7 separate regions of the Homo sapiens genome follow, and all the other regions are linked to region 4. The links are contacts of gene promoters, found by promoter capture Hi-C in blood cells and fetal thymus (Javierre and others, 2016). All regions are on one chromosome and are shown on one strand. Each heading gives the region's core, a stretch centred on a gene start or on the middle of the fragment in contact. The rest is flanking DNA. Distances are from core to core; before and after follow the strand shown. Region 1 has its middle 80 kb from the start of BIRC3. Region 2 overlaps DCUN1D5 (defective in cullin neddylation 1 domain containing 5). Region 3 has its middle 39 kb from the start of BIRC2. Region 4 holds the start of MMP8 (matrix metallopeptidase 8). Region 5 overlaps BIRC2 (baculoviral IAP repeat containing 2). Region 6 has its middle 6.1 kb from the start of BIRC3. Region 7 overlaps LOC105369460 (a long non-coding RNA gene).

The links. Contacts are between HindIII fragments. The CHiCAGO score rates a contact against its expected background, and 5 or more counts as called.
Region 1: a fragment that was not itself captured here is called in contact with the fragment with the promoter of MMP8 in region 4 in 5 of 17 cell types (M0 macrophages, naive B cells, M2 macrophages and 2 more); the score reaches 5.8 in M0 macrophages.
Region 2: a contact is called between a fragment that was not itself captured here and the fragment with the promoter of MMP8 in region 4, in 4 of 17 cell types (M0 macrophages, M1 macrophages, monocytes and 1 more). The highest score is 8.3, in M0 macrophages.
Region 3: a fragment that was not itself captured here is called in contact with the fragment with the promoter of MMP8 in region 4 in 2 of 17 cell types (M0 macrophages and M1 macrophages); the score reaches 9.0 in M0 macrophages.
Region 5: a fragment that was not itself captured here is called in contact with the fragment with the promoter of MMP8 in region 4 in 4 of 17 cell types (M0 macrophages, M1 macrophages, monocytes and 1 more); the score reaches 12.6 in M0 macrophages.
Region 6: a fragment that was not itself captured here is called in contact with the fragment with the promoter of MMP8 in region 4 in 4 of 17 cell types (M0 macrophages, M1 macrophages, M2 macrophages and 1 more); the score reaches 17.7 in M0 macrophages.
Region 7: a contact is called between a fragment that was not itself captured here and the fragment with the promoter of MMP8 in region 4, in 4 of 17 cell types (M0 macrophages, M1 macrophages, monocytes and 1 more). The highest score is 17.6, in M0 macrophages.

What each region holds. Positions count from the first base shown.
Region 1 is chr11:102,235,437-102,238,753 of GRCh38, reverse strand. No RefSeq gene overlaps it. Among named protein-coding and RNA genes, the nearest start is that of BIRC3, 80 kb to the left of the region's middle. The HindIII fragment of the contact is 3,342 bases long and covers 13-3,317 here.
Region 2 is chr11:103,075,690-103,078,963 of GRCh38, reverse strand. The region is part of intron 4 of DCUN1D5 (defective in cullin neddylation 1 domain containing 5); the gene reads left to right. Among named protein-coding and RNA genes, the nearest start is that of DCUN1D5, 15 kb to the left of the region's middle. The HindIII fragment of the contact is 1,326 bases long and covers 1,161-2,486 here.
Region 3 is chr11:102,384,184-102,387,836 of GRCh38, reverse strand. No RefSeq gene overlaps it. Among named protein-coding and RNA genes, the nearest start is that of BIRC2, 39 kb to the right of the region's middle. The HindIII fragment of the contact is 1,477 bases long and covers 1,655-3,131 here.
Region 4 is chr11:102,723,482-102,726,798 of GRCh38, reverse strand. It overlaps MMP8 (matrix metallopeptidase 8), which reads left to right and starts at 1,845. Exons shown (of 10, transcript NM_002424.3): 1 at 1,845-2,045. The coding sequence starts at 1,944. RefSeq lists an enhancer at 1,439-2,638. The HindIII fragment of the contact is 5,644 bases long and covers 1-3,317 here.
Region 5 is chr11:102,359,297-102,362,744 of GRCh38, reverse strand. The region is part of intron 3 of BIRC2 (baculoviral IAP repeat containing 2); the gene reads right to left. Among named protein-coding and RNA genes, the nearest start is that of BIRC2, 14 kb to the right of the region's middle. RefSeq lists an enhancer at 1,245-1,294. The HindIII fragment of the contact is 5,897 bases long and covers 1-3,448 here.
Region 6 is chr11:102,309,579-102,313,142 of GRCh38, reverse strand. No RefSeq gene overlaps it. Among named protein-coding and RNA genes, the nearest start is that of BIRC3, 6.1 kb to the left of the region's middle. RefSeq lists an enhancer at 2,631-2,925. The HindIII fragment of the contact is 1,936 bases long and covers 410-2,345 here.
Region 7 is chr11:102,280,304-102,283,758 of GRCh38, reverse strand. LOC105369460 (a long non-coding RNA gene) reads right to left here. Exons shown (of 5, transcript XR_007062863.1): 5 at 2,520-3,455. Among named protein-coding and RNA genes, the nearest start is that of BIRC3, 35 kb to the left of the region's middle. The HindIII fragment of the contact is 1,863 bases long and covers 1,252-3,114 here.

The sequences.
Region 1 (3,317 bases), core at 434-2,933, 490 kb after region 4:
CCTGTACAAGCTTTCCCTGATCATCCTAGGAGGAAGTAATCTTCCCATAGACTGTGCTCTCTCACTACATTGTGTGAACTAACTTCAGCACTTAACAGTCTTACCTTTACTCTTGGTAAGCTCCCTGAGGAAGTTACCATGCCACTTATTACTCAAGTTGGAATATGTTCCAAGTGTGTTTGTTGAGCAAATGTACATGATTTTTTAAAATGGATGGAAGATCTAACCTGTTACAGCATTGTCCTATTGTTGTGGCAATTTTCCTAGGATTCCCTCTGTGTGGAGAGCAAAGTCCTACCTGCAGTGGGGCCAGAGGTAGGGAAGCTCATAACTGAGAAGACAATTTTGAGCCCCAGGGAATACGGTTAGCCTTGTATACAGAAAGCATTTTCCAGTTATGGGCTACCCCCTCAACTTCTAGTCATCTCACAGCCATAGTGTGGGATTTAAACCTAGGTTTGAGGCACACAATTAGGAATTGTAATAATTATGTCTTATTTGATCTTGGTATGACCAAACAAGGAGATCATATGTGGGAGCATCTCAGTAATTACAGAATATTAAAATACTGAAAAACAAATAGCATACTTATAAAATTGAAGATGGTGTGCATCTTAATGACAGAACAAGACAGAGCCTCATGTACTTATGCAGATGCCCTGGGTAGACCTACTCAAGTTTGAAGGACTATTTTGAATTATTCAATAATACTATGTCTTTAAACAAGATGATATTGAGAAAAGGTCATAGTGATTTTAAAATACAGTATCACTTTTAAGGAATGTTAACGGTTTACCAGTTGCTTTTATAACACTTTGATCTTCTTTATCAGTGTCTTGAGATAGTGCAAATTGTAGTACGTTCACTTTACCCCTGATGGAGAAAAAGTCTGAGAGACTCCAAATCCCACAGTAAGTGATGGCAGTGGGACACCAACTTAATTGGAATAATCTGCCTTTCAAATTTGTCATAGTGACCAGGATAGAACAACAAAACTATGAGAACACTGGAGATGTTCAGGTATTGAGAATTTTTCTTCAGTGATTTTGGAAGACTGATAGGGATTTAGTCAAAGTTTTAGCTCAAATCAGTGGAAAATTTCCTCAGCAACATCCTGAATTTGGGGTAGGGTTTGCCACTGCATTCCAGATAAAGATGTGGCCTCGAAGGTGAGCTGTGAGTTGGCTGTTAAGCACCCGTCACCCCCATCCCCGCCCGCTGCCCCTCAATGAAGCATCAGCTGTTTTCTGAATGACACTAAATGGGCTTAGGCTGGTTTTCTGAAACTCCCATAGCAGAATTCCACAGAAATTCCTTTGGCCTAGAATACAGAAAAGCTATGCTGTCTTTCAATGATTTGGACTGTAAAAGAACAACTAAATCTCAAGTCCACATTCTTCACTGGGCAGTCCCATTTGGGATTATTTTACAGGGCTCAACAGACTTACTAGTGCTCAGAGACAAAACACCTCAGCAAATGGCCTCCTTTTGGAAGATGATGCACATGTGGTTTTTGTGGTGTGACTTCAAATTACCTAACAGTCTGGCTGTCCCTGAATATGAGCCATTGTATCTCTTATAAAATCTAAGGTCTTAATTCACGGTCATCCAAGTGATCAGTCTTATCTAGTTGTGATCCTAGTATCATTTAGAATCCACTGGGCTACAGCCCATGAGGCAGATGCCTCTGCTGAACTCTGCCTGCAGATGTGTTTACCTCCTCTTCCTTTTTTTTTTTTCCCCCTGAGACAGAGTCTCGCTCTGTTGCCCAGGCTGGAATGCAGTGGCGCGATCTCAGCTCACTGCAACCTCCGCCTCCTGGGTTCAAGCAATTCTCCGTGCCTCAGCCTCCCCAGTTGCTGGAATTACAGCTGCCTGCCACCGCAGCCAACGAATTTTTGTATTTTTAGTAGATACGGGGTCTCACCATGTTGTCCAGGCTGGTCCTGAACTCCTGACCTCAGGTAACCTGCCTGCCTTGGCCTCCCAAATTGCTGGGATTACAGGCGTGAGCCACCGTGCCAGGCTTTACCTCTTATTCAGTAGAAAAAAGTGCCAAATACAAGTTGCTGAGAGGTTCCCTGAAGGAGGAGGAAGTGTCTTTAGCTAGGTTTCCCAATGGCTGCATCACTAGTGAAGCTCAGCTTTGAGTAGCTGGCTTCAGTAGCTCTTGGTGATAGCACTGATAGACAGGAGATTTTCTCTCAGATCCTGCCATTTAATCCAGATCCTTGAGAAAATTAGTTCAAGTTTGCCAGATATGCTATCATTTTAATTGTGTAAATCCACTGTAACATAAAAACCCGATTTGAAACAGAACAAATGCTTTAAAAGGAACTGAGATGTGGGGCACGGCGTGGTGGCTCAGGCCTGTAATCCCAGCACTTTGGAAGGTGGAGGTGGGCAGATTGATTACTTGAGCTCAGGAGTTTGAGACCAGCCTGGACAACATGGTGAAACCCCACGTCTCTACAAAAAATACAAAAATTAGCTGGGTGGGTGGCGCAAGCTGCTTGGGAGGCTGAGGCACGAGAACTGCTTGAGCCCAGGAAGTGGAGGTTGCTGTGAGCTGACATTGCGGCACTGCACTCCAGCCTGGGTGACAGAGCGAGACCCCGTCTCAAAAAAAGAAAAAAAAAAAAAAAAAGAACTGAGATGTGGCTTCTAATAATATCCCAAGTAAAATTACAACCAAATGTGAAGTTTAACTCATATTTTATATAGATTCTATGAAGGTCGTGGGAACTATAATTCCACAAAAATATACCTGGGACAAGATGTAAGGAAACGTGGGGAAAGGTATGTCACAACCCTAAGAAGTTTTTACAAGTTCCTTTTACAAAAAAATCAAGCCCTGTCCACTAACTGAGTGCAAACCAATACCAATTTCACAAAGTTACAGTACCTCTAGTTCTTGTTTCTTTAACAGTTAAAGTTTGTTTTTAAGTTAACTAGACTAGGTGTTCAAAAATTTTACAGAAGTAGACCCTTTGCTAAGAGGTCTCCAAATAATTGCTTTCAGTGGCAAAGATACTAGGTTTTTTGTTTCTAACAGGATCATAGCAGCTTGTAAGTCAGGTCACTTTGGGAGTTTTGTTTTTTGTTAAAATACGGCAGACTTTAATTCAGAATACCTTTTCAGTGTCATTTTGTTTTGCTCATGTCTTGATTCTGCAACTGTTTTCATTTGTGGCAGTATTAAGGCTATGTTTATGGTTAAGAAATTATCCATTTTACCTATGTCAGAGCTTTTTGTGTTCAAGGTAGCAAAACATATTTTATGTGTGACTTGGAAAAACTGTAGTACTAAATGTCAC
Region 2 (3,274 bases), core at 574-3,073, 350 kb before region 4:
TTGCTGTAACCATAAACCAAGGAGAACGTGACATGTGCTAGAGTGGAAATACAAGATACTATGAAAGCACAGATGAGTAAGGTTAATTTCAGCTGAGTAGGTAGGTAAATGTAGGTGTGGCCTGTGAACTAGAACATGAAGAATGATTAGGATTTTGTTTGTTGAGGATACAGGAAAATGTTTCAGAAGAGGGAAATTGTGAGCAGGACCTTGAGGAAGGAAAGCATATGTTTGAAGGAAGTAGTTTGATTTCTTAAAATTGTAAAGTACATAAAAAAATTGCCAGGATAGGTTTTGAATTCTAATATTTTGAGTGATGGCTTCACTGTAGAGTGCTTTAGCTAATACGTTGAGAGAGTTTAAATCTATGTTACAGATATTGGGAAACCATCAGAGATTTTAAAGCACAGGAATTTTAAAAGATTTGGGGGATAATTTTCAATGAGCAATTGTTTTTAATATTTTAAAGTCACAGTCTCTTTTGAGAGTCTTATGAGAACTATGGACCTCGTTCCCATTAAGAGGCACATGTACTGCTAGACACAAAAATTTGATGTGCTCTCAGGAGGTTATGGAATTTCTCTTCCTTCGTCTATAGATACGAGGTTTCAAGGATACTTGGCGAGTTTTTGTTCTGGCATAGTGTACTAGAGTGGAGGTCTTTTCTCATATCTGCTAGCTGAAAGTCTGGTGTTGGAGCAAGGGTGAAATACTATACCAGTGGAGAAAACTGAATATAGACCTTTGAAGAGGACCGTACTTGATTATGATAATGAAAAGGACAAGACAAGAGCATCTGACAACAGTGATAGTAATTAAGCTGCCTGCCGGTAGGTTGCAGTTTGTAAATCTAGTCTCTATTGAGCCCCGGACTTTGAAGTGTAAAAGGAATGGCATGGCTTGACCGTCTTAGCGAGAGGGGAATAGGGAACATTTATATGATTTTTTTTTTTGGTGGGGGTGGAAGAGGAGAGTAAATGAAATGCCATCGTGTGTGATGTGACTGTCATTCATTTAGCATTTGGGGCCCAACTACTAATTGCCATTAGCATCCTTTCCCTCTGTTCTCTCTTAAGGTCATTATGACAATTTCAAAATGCCCCTCTGCACATTTTCAAATACCCCTAGAAGTAGATGGTATTGTTCTGGTTGAGAAAGCTTATTTAGAGGAAGTTCTAAATCCAGAACTTTGTGACACAATTCTTCGTGTTACACATCAATGTGTCACAGCACAGTCACTGGGACTTATGGATTAGGAAGAGAGCCTCACTTACATCTAATACATGCATGAAACTTTCTTCTCACTTTAAAGGTCTTTAATGAAACACAAGTTCAAAAGCCTCCCTTTGTAATCAGTTGCTTAGCAATACCAGGAAATTAATTTCCGAGTCCTAACGTTGAAATTAATACCCATTTCTTCTCTTTCTAACTACAGTGGCCTTGGAGAATGGTGTATTGTATTGTGCCAGTGTTCCCTCAAATCTGTGTGGTTTTATTTGGTTGTTATTTGGAAAACTATCTCTTGCTTTCCATAGTACGCTAGTTAAGTATGCATTTCTTTTTATTTCGGAGGAAATATTCTTTTTTCTAAACTTCCCAATTTCTGAGGTATTGATGTTAGTATTTTGGAGCTAGATTCGATATAAAAATTGTATTGCTGTTAGTAACTGCTTCGGTATGTTGGTTTTGCCAGATGTGTTCACAGTCTTCATGATACTGTTAATAAATATGGAGGTTTGTGCTCTTATTCTTTTTTTTTTATTTGAGACGGCGTCTTGCTCAGTCTCCCAGGCTGGAGTGCAGTGGCGCGATCTCGGCTCACTGCAAGCTCCGCCTCCCGGGTTCACGCCATTCCCCTGCTTCAGACTCCTGAGTAGCTGGGACTACAGGCACCCGCCACCACACCCAGCTAATTTTTTTTGTATTTTTAGTAGAGACGGGGTTTCACCATGTTAGCCGGGATGGTCTTGATCTCCTGACCTCGTGATCCACCCGCCTCGACCTTCCAAAGTACTGGGATTACAGGCGTGAGCCACCGTGCTGGCCTATTCTTTTTTTACTACAAAAAAGTCTGTTGGATTCTTTCTCTGCTCAAGATTTACAGTAGACCATTAGGAATGGTATGACGTAGTTTCTACCAAGGTGTGTAGTGTAGGTGATTTTTAATCCATTTGCCTCAAAAGAAGCATATCAAGGACTGTGCTAAGCATTTAACACATGGATTCTCATTTAATCTTTATGGTTGTCCTATGAAATTATTATTGTTACCATTTTAAAAATCAGATAACTGAGGCTGAAAAAGGTTAAGTAACTTGCCATATAGTTGTCCTATTAAATTATTATCGTCGTTTTAAAAATGAGGAAACAGGCTGAAAACGGTTTAGTAACTTGCTGAAAGCCACATGACCAGAAATAGAGAAGCTAGAATTTTAACCAATCTGTTTGACTTGAAAATTTGTTCTTCCCTTCACTTTATTTCTTAAGCTTATTGAAATTACATAAGTAAGATAGTAACTTTGTGTACCCATGAAATGTAAAATATTTGGAAAATATTATAATATCTTGGATTCTTATCTCCTTAGTGACTTCTCAGTCACTATGTGCTTTGTGATTTTGTTTGATCTACCATTTACCACTAAGTTTCTCCCAGATAGGAATTTTGAAACATTATATAATTAAATAAATATATCACCTACCCTGTGGTTTATTTTTGGTGGTCACACTTTTATTTAACAAATATTTTTGGAGTGCTATATGTCAGGTCCTGTGTTATGCTATGACAGTGATTTTTTAAATCTGATGGTAAGGAAAGAAAGAACTTTGAATGTCAGGAGGCATCCTTTATCTTCTTTGCCCCCTTAACACTTAAGTCTCAAGCCTGTTAAGATTCTGTGTGAGATTTTGTATGAAAGATGTGACTCACATTATGAAGACTTCATCTCCATATTTTCAAACATTATAGTGGCATGTAATCTGAGAAATTTGCTTTGCATATCCCCATGGTAGAAGTCAACTTTCATTAAAGCATTATTTTTCACATAATGAATAATTTTTGCACTAACAGAAACCACTTAGTGAAATAGTAGGTAATGAATTTCTAATAAGTAAGAATAAATTTTTCTTGTTTCCTCATCAAGCATATTGTGCATTCATTCATATATAAGGAATTCTGGTTAACTTATCCAAATTTTGATTTCCATTTCTGGCAATATGGCTACTAAATGTGTGGAGAAACCATTTCTCATGTAAAACGCTTAAATGCTGGATAACATAT
Region 3 (3,653 bases), core at 1,144-3,643, 340 kb after region 4:
AACTGTTAAAATTGGCTATCATCAGCTGGGTGTGGCGGCTCATGCCTGTAATCCTAGCACTTTGGGAGGCCGAGGTGAGTGGATTGTCTGAGTTCAGGAGTTCAAGACCAGCCTGGGCAACATGGCAAAACCCTGTCGCTACTAAAAAAATACAAAAAAATTAGCTGGGTGTGGTGGTGCACACCTGTAATCCCAGCTACTTGGGAGGCTGAGGCACGAGAATCGCTTGAACCTGGGAGGTGGAGGTTGCAGTTGACCGACATCATGCCACTGCACACCAGCTTGGGTGACAGAGCAAGACTCTATCTCATTAAAAAAAAAAAAAAAAAAAAAAGGTTATCATCAAACAGACGAAAGATATCAAGTGTTGGTGCATACGCAGGCAAAAGGGAACCCTTGTATGCTGTTGGTGAGAATGTAAATTAGTATAGGCATTATGGGAAACTTGTGGTGGTTAAAACAACTCCATATTGGATGCTAATCCACCATGTTGACTTCTGATTAACCCCAGTTCCGGGAATGCCTCTAAGGTTTCCACTTTCACTTACTTTCTGTAAATCCTGTCCTTAGGTCAAAACAGTCTTGATGCTCTCATAAACACATACTTACCATAAATCTTGCCCTTAGGCAAATTCCTTATGATAGAAAAGCCCTGGGTCTAGGGGCTAACAGTACAGGGATCCACCATCTTACAGTCACTGGAGACATGGCTTCTATTTGTAAGTTCCTATTTTCTTTCTGAGAAACTGGATTTGTCAGCCTCTTTCTTTGGCCTCACAGCTCCTCAGCTTTACCTACTCACTATGGAACAAAACTATAGTATGGAGATTCCTCAAAAAATTAAAAATAGAACTACCATATTATCCAGCAGTCCCACTTATGGGTATTTACCTAAAAGATCTGAAATCAGCATGTTGAAGAGATATCTCTACTCCCATGTTCATGAATATATAAAGAAAATGTGGTATACATACACTATGTAAAACTATTTAGCCTTAGAAAAGAATGAAACCCTGTCATTTGTGATAACATGGATGAACCTGGAGGGCATTATGTTAAGTGAAATAAGCCAGGCACAGAAAGACAAATACTGCATGATCTCACTTATGATATGGGAATCTAAAAAAGTTGAACTCATAGAAGCAGAGACTATAATGGTGGTTACCAGAGGCTCTGGGGACTGGGAGTTCATCAAAGGATATAAAGTTTCAGTTAGACAGGAAGATTACATTCAAGAGATCTACTGAATATCATGCTGACTATAGTTAACAACAATATGATGTAGACTTGAAAACTGTTGAGAGTAGATTTTAAGTATTCTGACCACAAAAGAAAATGAGGTAATGCGTATGTTAATTTTCTTCATTTAGCCATTCCACAGGGTATACATATGTCAAAACATATTATACAATATGTAATAAAGTTTTGTCAACTTTAAAAGTTTTTTTTTTTAAAGTACATAGCACAATGAATCATCACAAAGTGAACAAACCTATCTAACTCCCGCTTAGGTCAAAGACTAGAACATTACCAGCACTCCAGAAGTGCCCCTGGTATTCCCAACCATTCTTCCCTAGTTGTTAGATAACAACTGACTTTTAACACCATAGATTAGTATTGCCTGATTTAGAACTTTATAAAGCAGAATCAAGCTTCTTTTGCATATGGGTTCATTGCATTTAATTTCATAGGAAAACTAAATTTCTGTTCTATGCAAGGAATCAATATATGGTATATACAATCTACATTTTCATTAAATGTTTATAGCCAAAACCAGTTTTCATTATATCCTCTGAAAATGCTTCAAATAAATGTTTATTTTTGATCCTTGCAAATGTTGTGTATGAGAGTGCAGAGAAACCAACAACTTCTGAAGAAATAATGCATACTAAAATGAAACATTTGATAAATACAAACATTTTATGCCTACTCTGCTATTGTGTGATCATACAGATTAGTGGGCTTGTAGTAGAGGTTAGAACCCAATTTAACAGACATCTCCGGATATAAGCAGCTGACAACCTCACAAAAAAGAGGAAGACAAGTTGGAAATCTAAGATTAAGACCTGGAAGATTTCTATTGTGAACATAAAGAACTCAGCTTCCTTCTCTTTTCCTGCAGCTATACCCATCCATCTGATACGGAAGGGGGCCAGGGAAGTGCTGGAAAGGGAAGGGCTTGGTCCCTTCAAATGATATGGAAGTGGGGAAGGGAAGTGCTGGGTAGAAGAGGGCGCAGTCCCTGGCTAGGGTTCCAACCCCACGGACCTAGGTGAGGACAGGCATTTTTGTTTTCCTCCCCAAATGTTGCATTTCCCAAGACCACCCTGGCCTGCCACAGCCCCATCCTGTGCCTATAAAAACCCTGAGACCCTAGCAGGCATGGAACAGGAATTAAAAGAAATGAAGGAATGTGTAAGCAGAAACTCAGTTGTATGTAAGAAAACCCAGTTCCCCCTGAGAAAGACAAAGAGAAAGAGCTGGAGTCCTTTAAAAATTAACTGCCTGTTTTTCTGTGGCTAGTGAGCCTTATCTCTCCTCCTTTCCCAGGCATTGTGAAGACCCTGTTTCTCTGGCTGTGCAGCTGCAAGGTCAATAGACAGATAAACTCAAGTCATAAAACATGTTTTTCCTTGAAAAGTAATAAATGATGTAATGCATGTCTCAATTAATTAAATAACTGTCTTTGTTTCTCGCTTCTGTAATATGCTTCCCCCTGAAGAGATCTCCCCCCACCCCAAGAAATGCTTAAAAGGTAACTTAACTCTTTGTTCAGGGCTCAGTCCTTTGGATGTTAATCCGACTAGGCCAATGCATCTAAATAATGAATATCCTCCTCAACCCCATCGGTCTCTCTGATTCCTTATCAATCCCGCCACAGGCAGACAAACAGGCAGCTGGATGTCGAGAGGGGGCACATGAGCAGAGGAACACACAAGCAGCTGGACGTCAAGAGGACATTGAGGGGAGCACGCCAGCACACCAGCAGGCCATCAACCAGCGGAATGAGGTGGAGAGTTTGGCTGGGGCAGTTGAAGGAGAGCCCGGACCGCCGAGCGGCCAGACTCCAGGGGAAAACCATCTCCCTTCTGGCTCCCTCATCTGCTGAGAGTTACTTCCACTCAAAAGCTTACACTCATTCTCCAAGCCCATGTGTGATTCAGTTCTTCTGGTACACCAAGGCAAGAACCCTGGGATACAGAAAGCCCTCTGTCCTTGAGATAAGGCAGGGGTCTGAGCTAACACGAGCCACCTACGGACAGCTAAACTAAAAGAGCACCCTGTAACACATGACCACTGGGGCTTCAGCTGTAAAAATTCACCCCTAGACCCTGCCATAGGGTCAGAGCCCTACAGCCTGCCCATTGGTATGCTCCCCTAGAGGTTTGAGCAGCGGGGCACTGAAGAAGCGAGTCACCCTCATCGCATGCTCTGCAAGGGGGACAAGGGAACTTTTCCTGTTTCACATCCTAACCCTCTTCCTTCTCATCTCAGGAAAAGATGGCCTTTCTGTGCAAAAATATCTAGATTTATCACCTCCCAGCTACTCAAAGACTTTTCCCCTTTCTATTAAAACATTAATCATAATCACTTTAAAAAAAATTTTTTAAGAACCAGGTAAAGTGCCACCTCTTTTACACAGAACTTTTACC
Region 4 (3,317 bases), core at 596-3,095:
AAAACTAAGTTTACCGAAGTTTTAGATTCTCAACTAAATCACTTGCTGTTATGTTCAGAAGAAAGTACATTTATAAACCTTGTAAGCAAGCCATTGCATCAAAATAACTCAACATAGAGTTAGACCAATGTTAAGGCATTTTCGTGGAGGAAAAAGCATTTTTTCACCAAAGACCTAATGTAAAGAAAGCCACATTAAGCCATGAACTCAAGGAGGATGAACATGACCGTGATCTTTGAACAATTTGGCAGGAAGCTGTCACATTTATATTAATACAAAGAATGGGTTGCTACATCTCTGCATGTCTACATTCTACCTCTTCATGATCCGGTTCAAATTCCACCTCCCTCATGAAACCTTCCTTGATTTCACTCCCTCCACACCACTGCTGTTTCCTCCAAACACCCACAGCATTTTATCCAAACCTCTATTAATTTATCTCCAATACTCTAGCACCCATCACAGCATGTGGCATGTAGTAGATGACAGGAAATGTTTACTGAATGAATGTAGGAATATACATCATTAACATTAATCTGCTGTCCAGATATGTTCTAACCCAAGACACCTTTCTTTGGATCATTTTCAAAGTTCCTAAGTGACCTCAGGAAAGATCAGAACTCCTTATCATAGCATCTCAAATACACTCTTTACATATTAATACATGCTATGTATCATACATGTAGACACATGCATTTATACACAAGAATACCTGCCTTTACCAAATATGTATGCATATATGTAAATGAGTATTCACAAAGACTGTGTATGATAACAAACTACATGCATGTGGACTCAGAATAAGTGGGACCAGGTTACATGATTTGAAAAGCATGCCCAGGGGCCTCTGACAAACAGTCTCCTATGTAGCCATATTGTCTGGAAATCTCTCAGTGTCTTACTCCTTGAAGATGTACAACATCTCATTCTCCCTCTCCCTTGTCTTCTGCCTGTGAATATAAGCCAAAGTATCCAGCTGTTGAAGGCCTAGAGCTGCTGCTCCACTATGGCCCAGCCAGAGACTCAAGTGGGAGACTACCATGCAGAGCTTATAGTAGCTCCCAGCTCAGTCTCTCTAAACATACCCTCTGGGGTTGAATCCTGGCCCCTCCACAAATGAAACATGTGACTTAAACAGGTCATCTAAATGTCTCTGGATTTGATTTCATCTGTAAAATGGAGATAGTAATAGCATCTCCCTCCCAAGGCTATGTGAAGATGGATTGGGGTAATATGTGGAACACAGTACAAATGTCTGGGCAATCATAATTTTTTAGCAAATGTTCATTATTATCATCATCAGTATTGTTCTCTTTATCTTTTCCATGGAAAGTCTAACTTATAGACTAGGGATTTTCTAATATGTTGATACCAAACCACATCCTCCAGAAGCAGCTCTAGGCCCCATACAAAGCCTGCTTTGTAATAACACAGTCACTCATTCTCTCCACATACAATGAGGGAGGGTAAGTACAGAGATTCTCTAGTTGGGCTCCTTGGTCCCAAGATATCTACCACAAACCTCAAAATATTCCCCTGCATAAGTTAATTCAACCTCAACATCTTACATAGTCAAAAAATGTATCCACATAACTTCAGGATTAGTCCCTTGTTCCTTTTCCTCAACCAATTTTGTAAAAGGAAATAACTAAAACATCCAAAAGCAAAGAGTAGAAAGTTGGAGTTTTGAAAGACTGTTGAAAGACTCCCCCATTTGGGGGTACTAAATCACATTATAAAATTGCAAAACTGTCAGAGTGTAATTAACCTATGTTGCTTCATATTCCTGATGCAGCAATTGTTTAAGACATGGCTTTAAAGAGGACTGCAAGAGAGCTGTGAGTGACACATGATGCTGTGAACGTCAGGGTGCTCGCCAGGGAAGGGCCCTACCCAGAGGGACAGAAAGAAAGCCAGGAGGGGTAGAGTTTGAAGAGAAGATCATGTTCTCCCTGAAGACGCTTCCATTTCTGCTCTTACTCCATGTGCAGATTTCCAAGGCCTTTCCTGTATCTTCTAAAGAGAAAAATACAAAAACTGTTCAGGTAAATGAACTATCAGTTAGGTGATGTTTGATTTGCTGATTATTAGGAAATAGTGTGGGTTGTTTTCTCTTGTTAATTAAAACAGCCTGAAAGAAATTATTTGGGTGATTAGTTTGAGATTGAACATCTCCTTTTAGTGATTTGGAGGGTTCCAAGCTGGTAAGGACTAGGCCTTTTAAAAGCCGGACATGAAAACAAGCTGAATTCTTTAAAGGCTGGGAAAATACTGCTGTAGAGTTACCCCTAGTTGGGAAACTTTTGTAGAAGAAATGGTTTTATTTATAAAATGGTATCATTTTCTTTCTCATTTACCTAAGGTTTTTCCTTCCAGGATATCTGCAATCAAGTTACTATATGTCTGGTGCTTCCATACAGGCATTTTCTTTGCCGCCAAAAATTCCAGATATAGAAAATAATGTGAGGATGGTAGATTACAATGAACTAGAAATCAGTACACAGTAAAATCATATTTCCCAGCATCAGATTGTGGACTGTTTATAAACTCTTGGAAGCATTATAAAAGCAGAACCAATAGTTTTTTTCCATTGTTTCACAGTCTGAAAGTGAACCCAAATTTTTAAGAAACACAAGGGAATTCTGTCACAAATCTCTCATGCACAGTTTTCTTAGCATTATAGTTTGGAGAAAGCATTATTATTATTAAGAGGTTATCTCTTAATTGTAACCCCCGGGTTAATGTAAAGTCCATTGAGTGCTTATTCTATGCAAGGCAACTGCTACACATTTCACAAATATCTCATTTAATCCTCACAAGAACCTTATTGGAGCATTATTATTTTCATTTCAGAGACAAAAATATCTTAAATCAGATAAATAATGTGGCCAAGTGCTCACAGTTAATTCATGGCAGAGTTAAGATTTGAACCCAGGCCTGTCTGATTCCAAAGCGTGTGATCTGGTCAGTGTCACCTACTGCTGTGGTTAGAGTGTGTCCCTTGAATTTATGTGTTAAAGATTTAGTAGCCCATGTGACAGTGGGTCCTTTAAGAAGTACTTAGGTCATTAAGAAAGATTAATGACACTCTTGTGTGACTGGATTAATTTTTGCTGGAGTGGGTTCTGGCTCTTGCAGAACTGGATTAGTAATTAATAGAATGGGTATTATAAAGAGGGGCTGCCCTTTGTGTTTTGCCCCTTTTCACACATGCTTGCTCCCCTTTTGTTTCTCTGCCATGTTATGACACAGCACAAGGCCATCTCAGAAGCCAACCAGATGCAGCCACCTGATCTTGGACTTCCCAGCCTCCAGAA
Region 5 (3,448 bases), core at 854-3,353, 360 kb after region 4:
CAAAATTATCATAAAACAATATACATCCTTCTGTGTGTTATATATCACGGTATTTTCTAATTCAATCCATTAACACAACAACAAAAAGAAAAGCGTCTGCACCTACAAAGGGGAACAAGTTGACTCCTGAAGAACACTATTATACACAATCTATTTTGTGCTTAAAGTGAACTACTTAACAGTTTCAGATACTATTAACTCAGTATTCCTAAAATGTGATCTTTCACAATACAATAACTGCTCATTTTTCTTCAATGTTCACTCTTCCATTACATTTGAGCCAGAATCCACTACCTTCCCTCCAAAAAATATGGAATCAAATATTTTTATCTATATATAATATGACAGTGTTTCTCAAATATTTGTTTTTAAACTGATAGGGCTTCTCAAAGATGTTCCAAGAAGTTCACATACCATCTATATCTATTCTATTCCTTTTGTTTCTTCAATAAATGATACTATACAACAGAATATTCATATGTTAAAAAAAAGGAACACTGACCTATGCCCATATTATATGCAAAAATAGTAAAAATGGATCATATACCTAAATATAAAACCAAAAACAATAAAACTTCTAGGAAAAAGCCTTGTCTTTATTTGTCTTTACATTGGGTAAAGAATTATTAGACAAAAGACCAAAAACATATTCCACAAAAGATAAAATTGATAAATTGACATCATCAAAATTGAAAACATCTGCTCTTCAAAAGACAATGTTAAAGAAATGAAAAGCCGCAGACTGAAAGTTTGCAAGAGTGACATCAGCAAGACAGCAGACTAGGAGACATCAGCCTTCTTCCACCCACAAAAAACAACAAACAGACAGCTATACACAAATACAGCTCTGGAAGAACTCACTAGCCCAATCAGCCTACAGCAATAAAGGGAAAAAAAAAAAAAAGGGAGAATAACCACACAGAAAGGACTGCTGGGAGATCTGCTTAGCAGAGACATCTGGAGATGGCTAAGAACAAGGGGTGAGGGCTACCTGTATCAGTCATGTGGTGAGTGCCATTACAGTCCTCAGTGGCAAAGACTGCTAGGCTCCTCCCCAGAGCAGGTCCCTGGAGACCTCCAATAACCCTCAAGATAGCCACAGACTTCCTGCAGGTTTCACAGTGAAGGACCCTATAGTGTTCATTGATGCCAACCCCAGTAGCCTACTTTGCAGAGGACACTGACAGCTTTCACCATTAAGGTAACCAGCACCCATTGCTGCTGTGAACCCCCTGGAGAGGGAGACACTACTGCACTCCTCACCCTGAAAAAAAGCAGCTCTTGCACTGCCCAGACAGTGCAGCCCCTAACCCCCACATATGCCCCAGACCCCAGAGCCACAGCTGCTTCACATGTACCTTCATGTAAGACCTTTGCTCTGTGGCTGCTCTAATCACACACTCTCCAGATCCCAGCTCTCTGGCTGCTCTGCACACCTGCACTCCGCACCCAACTCAAAGGCTGCTCTACGTGCACCCACATCTGAGGCACTAGAAGCACCACTGCTGCAGGCTAGTCAACATCCTGAACCCAAGACCCGCTGTCTTTCTGCAAACACTTGCACTCCAAACCTTGGCTCTGTAGCTGCTCCACAGGTGTCCACGCCATCAGAGACATCAGTGCTGCCACCTCCACCAACACAACAAGCCCAAAGCCAGAACCTGTGCCAAGAAGAATCCCCTTGGCCACAATGTCTCCCATGGGAGAAAAAGTGATGAAGAGGTCCCCAGCAGCCTCTGCCACTATAGACTAAAAAAAGCCTTGCTGCTGGTATGGATACCTGCAGCCTTGGATGTTGAGGACCCCTGCAATCCTCACTGACAATGATCTGGGCTAATGGAGCTGCATGGAGTTCACAATGCTGGGCCTTCCACAGAGCCAGAACCACCACACCTACTGGCTGGCGCCCTCACCCTCACCCTCACCCACAGGCAAAGATCTTTGCCCACAAAAAAAAAAACAAAAAAAACACACTAATCTGTAATGTCTAGAAGTAATTCGTCCATCAAATACACAGATAACACAAGGCCACAAGAAACAGAAAGAAAAAAAAAAAAAGAAACGTGACATTAGCAAAGAAACTCAGTAATTTTCCAGTAATCACCCACAAAGAAATGGAGATCTATGAACTAACAGATAAAGAATTCAAAATAATTGTTTCAAGCAAACTCAGTGAGCTACAAAAGAACACAGATAATGAAATAAAAAAATATATACAAACAAATGAGAAATTCAACACAGAGATAGGAATAATAAAAAGAAACAAATTCGGGAGCTGAAGAACATAACAACAAAAAATGCAATAGAGAGCATCAATAGCAGACCTGATCAAGCAGAAGAACCTGTGAACTCAAAGGCAGATCATGTGAAATTATCTAGTCAGAGGAGAAAAAAAGAAAAAAAAAAGAATAGTGGAGAAAGCCTACCTGAATTATAGGACACCATCAAGCAAAACAATATTTGCATTTTAAGAATTCAAGGCCAGGCACGATGGCTCACACCTGTAATCCAGCACTTTGGGAGGTTGAGGCGGGTGGATCACATGAAGTCAGGGGTTCAAGACCAGCCTGGCCAACATGGCAAAACCCCGTCTCTACTAAAAATACAAAAATTAGCTGGGCATGGTGGTGCACACCTGTAGTCCCAGCTACGTGGGAGGCTGAGGCAGGAGAATCACTTGAACCTGGGAGGTGGAGGTTGCAGTGAGCTGAGATCATGCCACTGCACTCCAGCCTGGGTGACAGAACAAGACACCATCAAAAAAAAAAACCCAAGAAAATGAAAAACAAACCCGAGAATTCAAGAAGGAAAAGAGAGAAAGGACAGAAAGCTGATTTAAAAAAAAAATGCTGAAAACTTCATAAATCTAGGGAAAGATATCCAGGTACAGGAAGTTCATAGGACCCCATAAAGATTCAACCCAAAGAAGACTTCACTGACACACATTATAATGAACTGGCAAAAATAGAAGATGAAAGAGAATTTTAAAACTGTAACAGAAAAGAAACTCATCTTCTACAAGAGAAACCCTATAAGACCACAAGTGGATTTCTCTGCAAAAACCTTGTAGGCCAGGAGAGAGTTGGATGATATATTCAAAGTGCTGAAAGACAAAACTACCAGACAAGAATATGTATCCCAGCAAAGCTGTCCTTCAGAAATGAAAGAGATATAAACAGTCCCAGACAAACAAAAGCTGAGGGAGTTTATCACCACTGGACGCGCCTTACAAGAAACGCTGAAGAGTTCTCCAAGCTGAAATGAAAGGACACTAATTAGCAACATGGAAACATATGAAAGTATGAAACTCACTGTTAAGATAAATATATAATCAAATTAATAATATACTAAATTTGTAATGGTCATGTGTAAATTACTTAATTCTAAAATACAGGTTTTTAAAAAAAAGTATTAAAAATAACTATAGCTTCAATAATTTTTTCATGAA
Region 6 (3,564 bases), core at 128-2,627, 410 kb after region 4:
CTCTGACAATTCCTGAGAGCGGTATGCTCTCAATATCCTATTATCAAATAATCAATTTAAAAGTATTTTTCCCTTGGGGGAATTATTATTAAAAATATTTTTTCTCTGGAGGGAATTTCGCATAATGTTGTAACAACTTTAGTTGTAGCCTAATGCTTTTTCACTGTAAGTTTTTAGATTTTTATGTATAAAGAAACCCAGGAATCTAGAACTGAAAGTGAAAGTGAAATCTTACAGGGAACATACTGTTCTAATTCCAAAGCAAATCTGAGAGTCCTTGTAAATGTTGACAATTTCCTGGTCTGTTGATAACTTTCTAACATCTTGCAAATAAAATACAATTACACCAGCCTTGAATAAGTGCTAACGAAGATCAAATTTACAAAGAAACCTCCTCTAATGTAAAGCTTTAGTCAAGATAATGAAGTTTACCCCTCATAAATGGTGGCTTACTTTATTTTATACTGATAGTACTCTAATAAAATATAATTTATATCATGTAAAGTACACAGATATTAAAAGCGTATAGCTTTATGATTTTGACAAATGAATGTACTCAGTTAACTATCAACCAGATCAAGATCAAGAACACCTTCCATTACCTCAGAAAATTCTTTCATGCTCTTTTGCAGTCAGTACCAAGCTATAATGCCCCCACCACCCCTCCCCCTCCCACAATCACTATTATGATTTATCACCCTAGATCTCATTTGTTTGTCCTTGAACTTCATACAAATGAAATCATATGATGTGTACTCATACTGGCTTCCTTCACTCAACATATTTCTTAGTTTCATCAATATTGTAACATGTATCAGTAATTTGTTCTTTTTATTGCATAGTAGTATTCCACTGTATAAATATACCATAGTTTCTTTTATTTTGAGACTGAGTTTTGCTCTTGTTGGCTAGGCTGAAGTGCAGTGGCGAGATCTCAGCTCACTGCAACTTCCACCTCCCGGGTTCAAGCGATTCTCCTGCCTCAGCCTCTTGAGTTGCTGGGATTACAGGTGTGCACCACCACGCCCAGCTAATTTTTTGTATTTTTAATAGAGATGGGGTTTCATCATGTTGGCCAGGCTAGTCTTGAACTCCTGACCCCAGGTGATCCACCTGCCTTGGCCTCCCAAAGTGCAGGGATTACAGGCATGAGCCACCGCGCCTGGCCTACCATAGTTTCTTTTTCTGTTTTCCTGCTAATGTACATTTGTGTTGTTGCCTGGTTCAATCCCTTGTGAAAAGAACTTATAAACTTTTTTTTTTTGAGACAGAGTCTCACTTTTTTGCCCAAGGTAGAGTGCAGTGGTGCCATCTCAGCTCACTGCAACCTCCACCTCCCAGGTTCAAGTGATTCTCGTGCCTCAGCCTCCTCGGTAGCTGGGACTACAGGCTCGAGTCACCATGCCCAGCTAATTTTTTGTACTTTTAGTAGAGATGGGGTTTCACCATGTTGCCCAGGCTGGTCTTAAAGTCCTGAGCTCAGGTGACCTGCCCGCCTTGGCCTCCAAAAGTGCTAGGATTACAGGCATGAGCTACCATGCCCAGCCCAGAACCTATAAACATTTTAGATTTTTTTTTCTTTAATAATATAGATGAGGTCTCACTATGTTGTCCAGGCTGGTCTCAAACTTCTGAGCTCAAGCTCAAGTGATCCGCCCAACTCAGCCTCCCAAAGTACTAGGATTACAGGTGTGCCCAGCCATTGTGCCCAGCCCATTTTAGTTTTTCTTTTGGTGAACCTATGAATTCTTCCTGTTGGCTAAATACCTGGATACGGAATTGCCATTGGGTAGGTGTATGTTTTATTTTTATTAGAAATTGCCGAAAGTTTTACAAAGTCTTTGCACCATTTTACACTCTCACCAGCAGTGTATAAGAGTTCTAGTTGCTACACATCTTTCCCAAGGCTTAGTATTGTGAGCCTTTTTAAGTTTAGCTCTTCTTTTGGGTATGTGGTGGCATCCCATTATGCTTTTTTCTATCCCTGTTGATTAATGATGTTGACTATATTTCCATATGCTTCTCGACACTTTAGATATCATATTTTGTGAGGTGCCTGTTCAAATCTTCCTCCAATTTTTAAATTGAATTGATTGACTTCAGGGAATTCCTTATATACCCTGGGTTGAGTCCTGTCATTGACATGTGCACTGTGAACAGTTTCTCCCCATTTGTAGCTTGTCTTTACGCTTCATTAATAGTTTCTTTTGATAAGTAGAATATTTTAATTCCATGAAGTCCAACTTATAATATTTTTAAGTTCAGTGTGTTTTATATCATGTTTAAGAACGCTTTGCCTATCCCAAGATTATGAAGATTTTCTTCTATATTTTCTTTTAGAAGCTTTGTGATATTCACTTTTCTATTTAGGACTATTGAAATGTAAAAAGGGCTGGGCGCGGTGGTTCATGCCCGTAATCCCAGCACTTTGGGAGCCCAAGGCAGGTGGATCACGAGGTCAGGAGTTGGAGACCAGCCTGGCCAATATGGTGAAACCCCGTCTCTACTAAAAATACAAAAATTAGCCAGACGTGGTGGCGTGCGCCTGTAGTCCCAGCTACTCGGGAGGCTGAGGCAGAAGAATCGCTTGAACCCGGGAGGTGGAGGTTGCAGTGAGCTGAGATCGCCCCACTACACCCCAGCCTGGGTGACAGAGCGAGATTCCGTCTCAAAAATAAATAAATACATAAATAAAATAAATGGAAAAAGTTCCCTTGTCCCCCTCGCAGGGCTTGCGACAGACGGAATGGCTCACTTCTTCAGTGCCCTGCTGCTCAAACCTCTAGGGGGCGCATGCAGACGGGCAGGCTGTGGGGCTCTGACACCACTGCAGTGTCTAGGGGTGAATGTTCAAGCTGAAGGCCCAGTGGGCGTGTGTTACAGGGTGCTCTTTTAGTTTAGCCATCCATAGGCGGCTTACGTTAGCTCAATTAGACCCCTGGCTTATCGCAAAGACAGAGGGCTTTCTGTATCTCAGGGTTCTTGCTTTGGTGTTCCAGAAGAATAGGATTACACGTGGGTTTGGAGAATGAGTGCAAGGGTTTATTGACTGGAAATAGCTCTCAGCAGATGGGGGAGCCAGAAGAAAAATGGTTTTCCTGTGGAGTCGGGCAGCTCGGCGGACCTGGGCTCTCCTTTGACTGTCCCAGACAAACTTCGTGTTGTTCAGCGGTCAATGGCCTGCCTGCCTGCTGGTGTGCTCCTACGCCGTTGAGTTCCCCTTGATGTCCAGCCACCTGTGTGCCTGCCTGCTAGGGTCTTGGGCAAACATTGGAAAACAACACAAGATCATTCAAGTCAGTGTCTTCTACTTCTTTCCGCAATTCCGTAAACTGGCACCGATCCATAGCATTTGCATGCATATGTTGCGCAACTTTCATAACTGTATCCACTACGCTTTCCATGAGCCTGATTCAGAACACTGAGCACAAATGTTTTCAGTATGTATTTATGATGAAAGAAAGAAAGGGACACATCAATCTTTTGTTTTAAAATTTCCTAAATTCATATCTAGCTGAAACTCTTCTTTGACAATATTAAAGGTTCAAATATTTCTATACCATG
Region 7 (3,455 bases), core at 934-3,433, 440 kb after region 4:
TCATACTGGAGGGGGGTGGGCCTCAACTCCAAGGAAATTGTCACTATAAGAGACAGAAGAACACACAGAGACACAGAGAAGATGAGGCAGATTGGAGTGAAGGGCCTATGAGCTAAGGAAGGTCAAGGACTGCCAGAAACCCCTAGAGACCCAGAGAGGCCTGGAGTGGTTTCTCTCTCAGAGCCTCTGGCAAGGAAGCAACCAAGCTGATTCCTTGATTTTGGATTTCTGGCCTCCTAAACTGTGAGAGAATAAATTTCTATTATTTTAAACTACGCAATTTGTAGTAATTTGCCATGGCAGCCCTGGAAATCTAATACAATCCACAAGGTAGATATCATTAAGTAATTTGCCCAAGTTAGGCAGCTACTATGTCAGTGCCTACTAGTCATCTACCTATTAATAGCCACCCTTTCCTTTTTTCTTACCAACAGAGAAAAGTTTTATTTGGGTTGGCAATATGCTCACCCTAATTACTACATTTTTCAGCCTACTCATAGTCACTGAGAGAGAAGCAGAAGTCACTGGGAAGACTAAATAGAGGAAACTGAGTTTTTTCTCCCACCCCAACACAGACATCATGACTGAGCTCCCATAGTCAGGAAAAAACTTGAGAATGGAAACCATATTCTATTTTTTTTTCATACAAGGTCTCACTGTCATCCAGGCTGGAGTGCAGTGGCATGATCACAGCTCACTGCAGCTTTGACCACCTGGGCTCAGGCAATCCCCCACCTGAGCCTTCCGAGTACCTAGGACTACAGGCTTGCGTCATCACTACTGGCTACTTTTTTTCTTTTTTTTTTTTTTGAGACGGAGTTTCACTCTTGAGCAATGGCGCGATCTCGGCTCACTGCAACCTCCGCCTCCCAGGTTCAAACGGTTATTCTGCCTCAGCCTCCCAAGTAGCTGGGATTACAGGTGCCCGTCACCAAGCCCAGCTAATTTTTCATATTTTCAGTAGAGACAGGTTTTCACCATGTTGGCCAGGCTGGTCTCGAACTCCTGACCTCAGGTGATCCACCTGCCTCAGCCTCCCAAAGTGCTGGGATTACAGGTGTGAGCCAATGTGCCCGGCCTAATTTTCTTTTTAATTTTGTAGAGATGGGGTCTTGCTATGTTGTCCAGGCTGGTCCTGAACTCCCAGGCTCAAGCAATCCTCTAGCCTCAGCCTCCCACTGCTGGGATTACAGGCGTGAGCCACCATGCCTGGCCATTGGAAACCATATACTAAGGGGTGTGGAACAAGCTTGGGTCCCTGATGACTGTGGAGTTGCTCTATCAATGCTGGACCTCTTTATCACAAAAGAATAATAAGAATAAACATTTTCCTTGTTTATATCACCGATATCTGGGTGAAATCTACTCCAAATTGCAACAGTTACTAAAGGCTGGGATTAGAATCTGAACCCAAACACATATGATGTTAAAGTCTCACATTCATTCCATTACCTTGCCAGCTTCCCTGACCATGGAAGCAGGTCTGCAACAAGCCCTGGCTCAGCCACTAACACACACAACAAACAAGTACCGACTACAATATATAGGAGTCATATGCTCTTCTAGGTTCCAGCATACAACAGTAAACAAAGACAAAAATCCCTGGGATTTAATTAATATTCTAATAAGGAATGATATACAATTTTTTAAAAATATGTAAAATGTAGGCTGTGTTAATGATAAATACTATAAAGCTAAATAATGCAGAAAATGTAGATAGGGAATGCTAGGAAGAAGGGTTTCAGGATTTGTTGATTTGTTTTTATTGTTTTTGTTTTGTTTTGTTTTTGAGATGGAGTCTTGCTCTGTTGTCCAGTCTGGAGTGCAGTGGTGCGATCTCGGCTAACCACAACTTCCACCTCCCAGGTTCAAGCAATTCTCCTGCCTCAGCCTCCTGAGTAGCTGGGACTACAGGCGTGAGCCATCATGCCCAGCTAATTTTTGTGTTTGTATCAGAGATGTAGTTTCACTATGTTGGCCAGGCTAGTCTCGAACTCCTGACCTCATGATCCACCCTCCTTGGCCTCCCAAAGTGCTGGGATTATAGGCGTGAGCCACTGCACACGGCCTTGCTAATTTTCTGTATTTTTAGTGGAGACGGGATTTTGCCATGTTGGCCAGGCTGGTCTTGAACTTCTGACCTCAGGTGATCCACACACCTCGGCCTCCCAAAGTACTGGGATTACAGGTGTGAGCCACCACACCCAGCCCCTGAAATTTGAATTGAAGACAATTTTTAACATGTCATGAAATGTTATCCTTTTGATTTTTTTTTTTTGCAGCCATTTAAAAATGTATCTTAACATTCTAGTCAAAAACAAAAACAAAAACAAAAACAAAACAGGCAGTAGACTGGATTTGACCTGCAGGCTGTACTCTGCTAACCCCTGCTTTAGACAGATGTACATTTATTCAATTTTTTTCTTAACTTGGTACATTTTTTTAAATGCATGCTAATGATGAACTTCTTAAAGTTACAGTGCTGGTATCTTGACCCACCAAAAAAAAGTGGTTGCAAATCATAGATCCAAAATGTATTTGAGGCAGAAGATTGTTCAGAACAAAAATCACTGAAAAGATACATTTTTAGACATAGCTCCTTTACAATTACTTCTTGATAGACAATGGAATTTAACTCTGCACTTACATTCTAATTCTACTTTGACAACGGAACCATTGGAAAAATGTTGGCGTATATTTCTCCAGTTTTGGTTTTATATTTTCTTTATAACTTAAAAAATCTAATTATCATTCTTTTTTGAGAAGGCACTCAATAAATGCTTTTTGAATGAATGATCCAGTCTGTTAAAACTGAAACATTTGCATTCACCCTGGCTTAGGCAAAATTGTAATGAAAGTTATCTTGAACATGCACAGTCTGCGTTTTTCTCTCTATACGGTATGTCTTCTATTAATGTTGTTTTTAAACAACCTTTTCCCTTTCCTTCTCTTGCTGAGATCTCAATACCCTTGCGATCCCTTCCACTTTTTATTAAAACCTGTGCTTAGGGTGAATAAGAGCGTTACTCTTAGAATATTGTAAATAACTTCTAGCAGCAAACTGTTTTACTACACTGTTGGGCTCATTTGCATTTTAATAGAATGAATGAAGCTTTGCATCTGGCATGTTAATACTCAGGGAGCCAACAGGTGGGGAAAACATTTCTTCCAGGAACCTCAGGTAAACTTCTGCTTCAGAAATCATGTCCCATAAGAAGTCACCTCCTTCACCTATGAGGAAAGACAACCACGCTGTCACTGGGCGGAATGGTCACAGCTGGCCTGTGGTGGAATCATGCATTGTAACAGGCAAAGGCTCCAATCAAGCCTGTCCTCTACCCTAGATCTGGGGCTGATAGCATTCTGCAAGAACAGCCACAAAATAAGAACAGGAATCATCTGCACTTTGGAAACACCAACACACTGAGACCTGTTTTGGAAAAAAACAGTGTCTG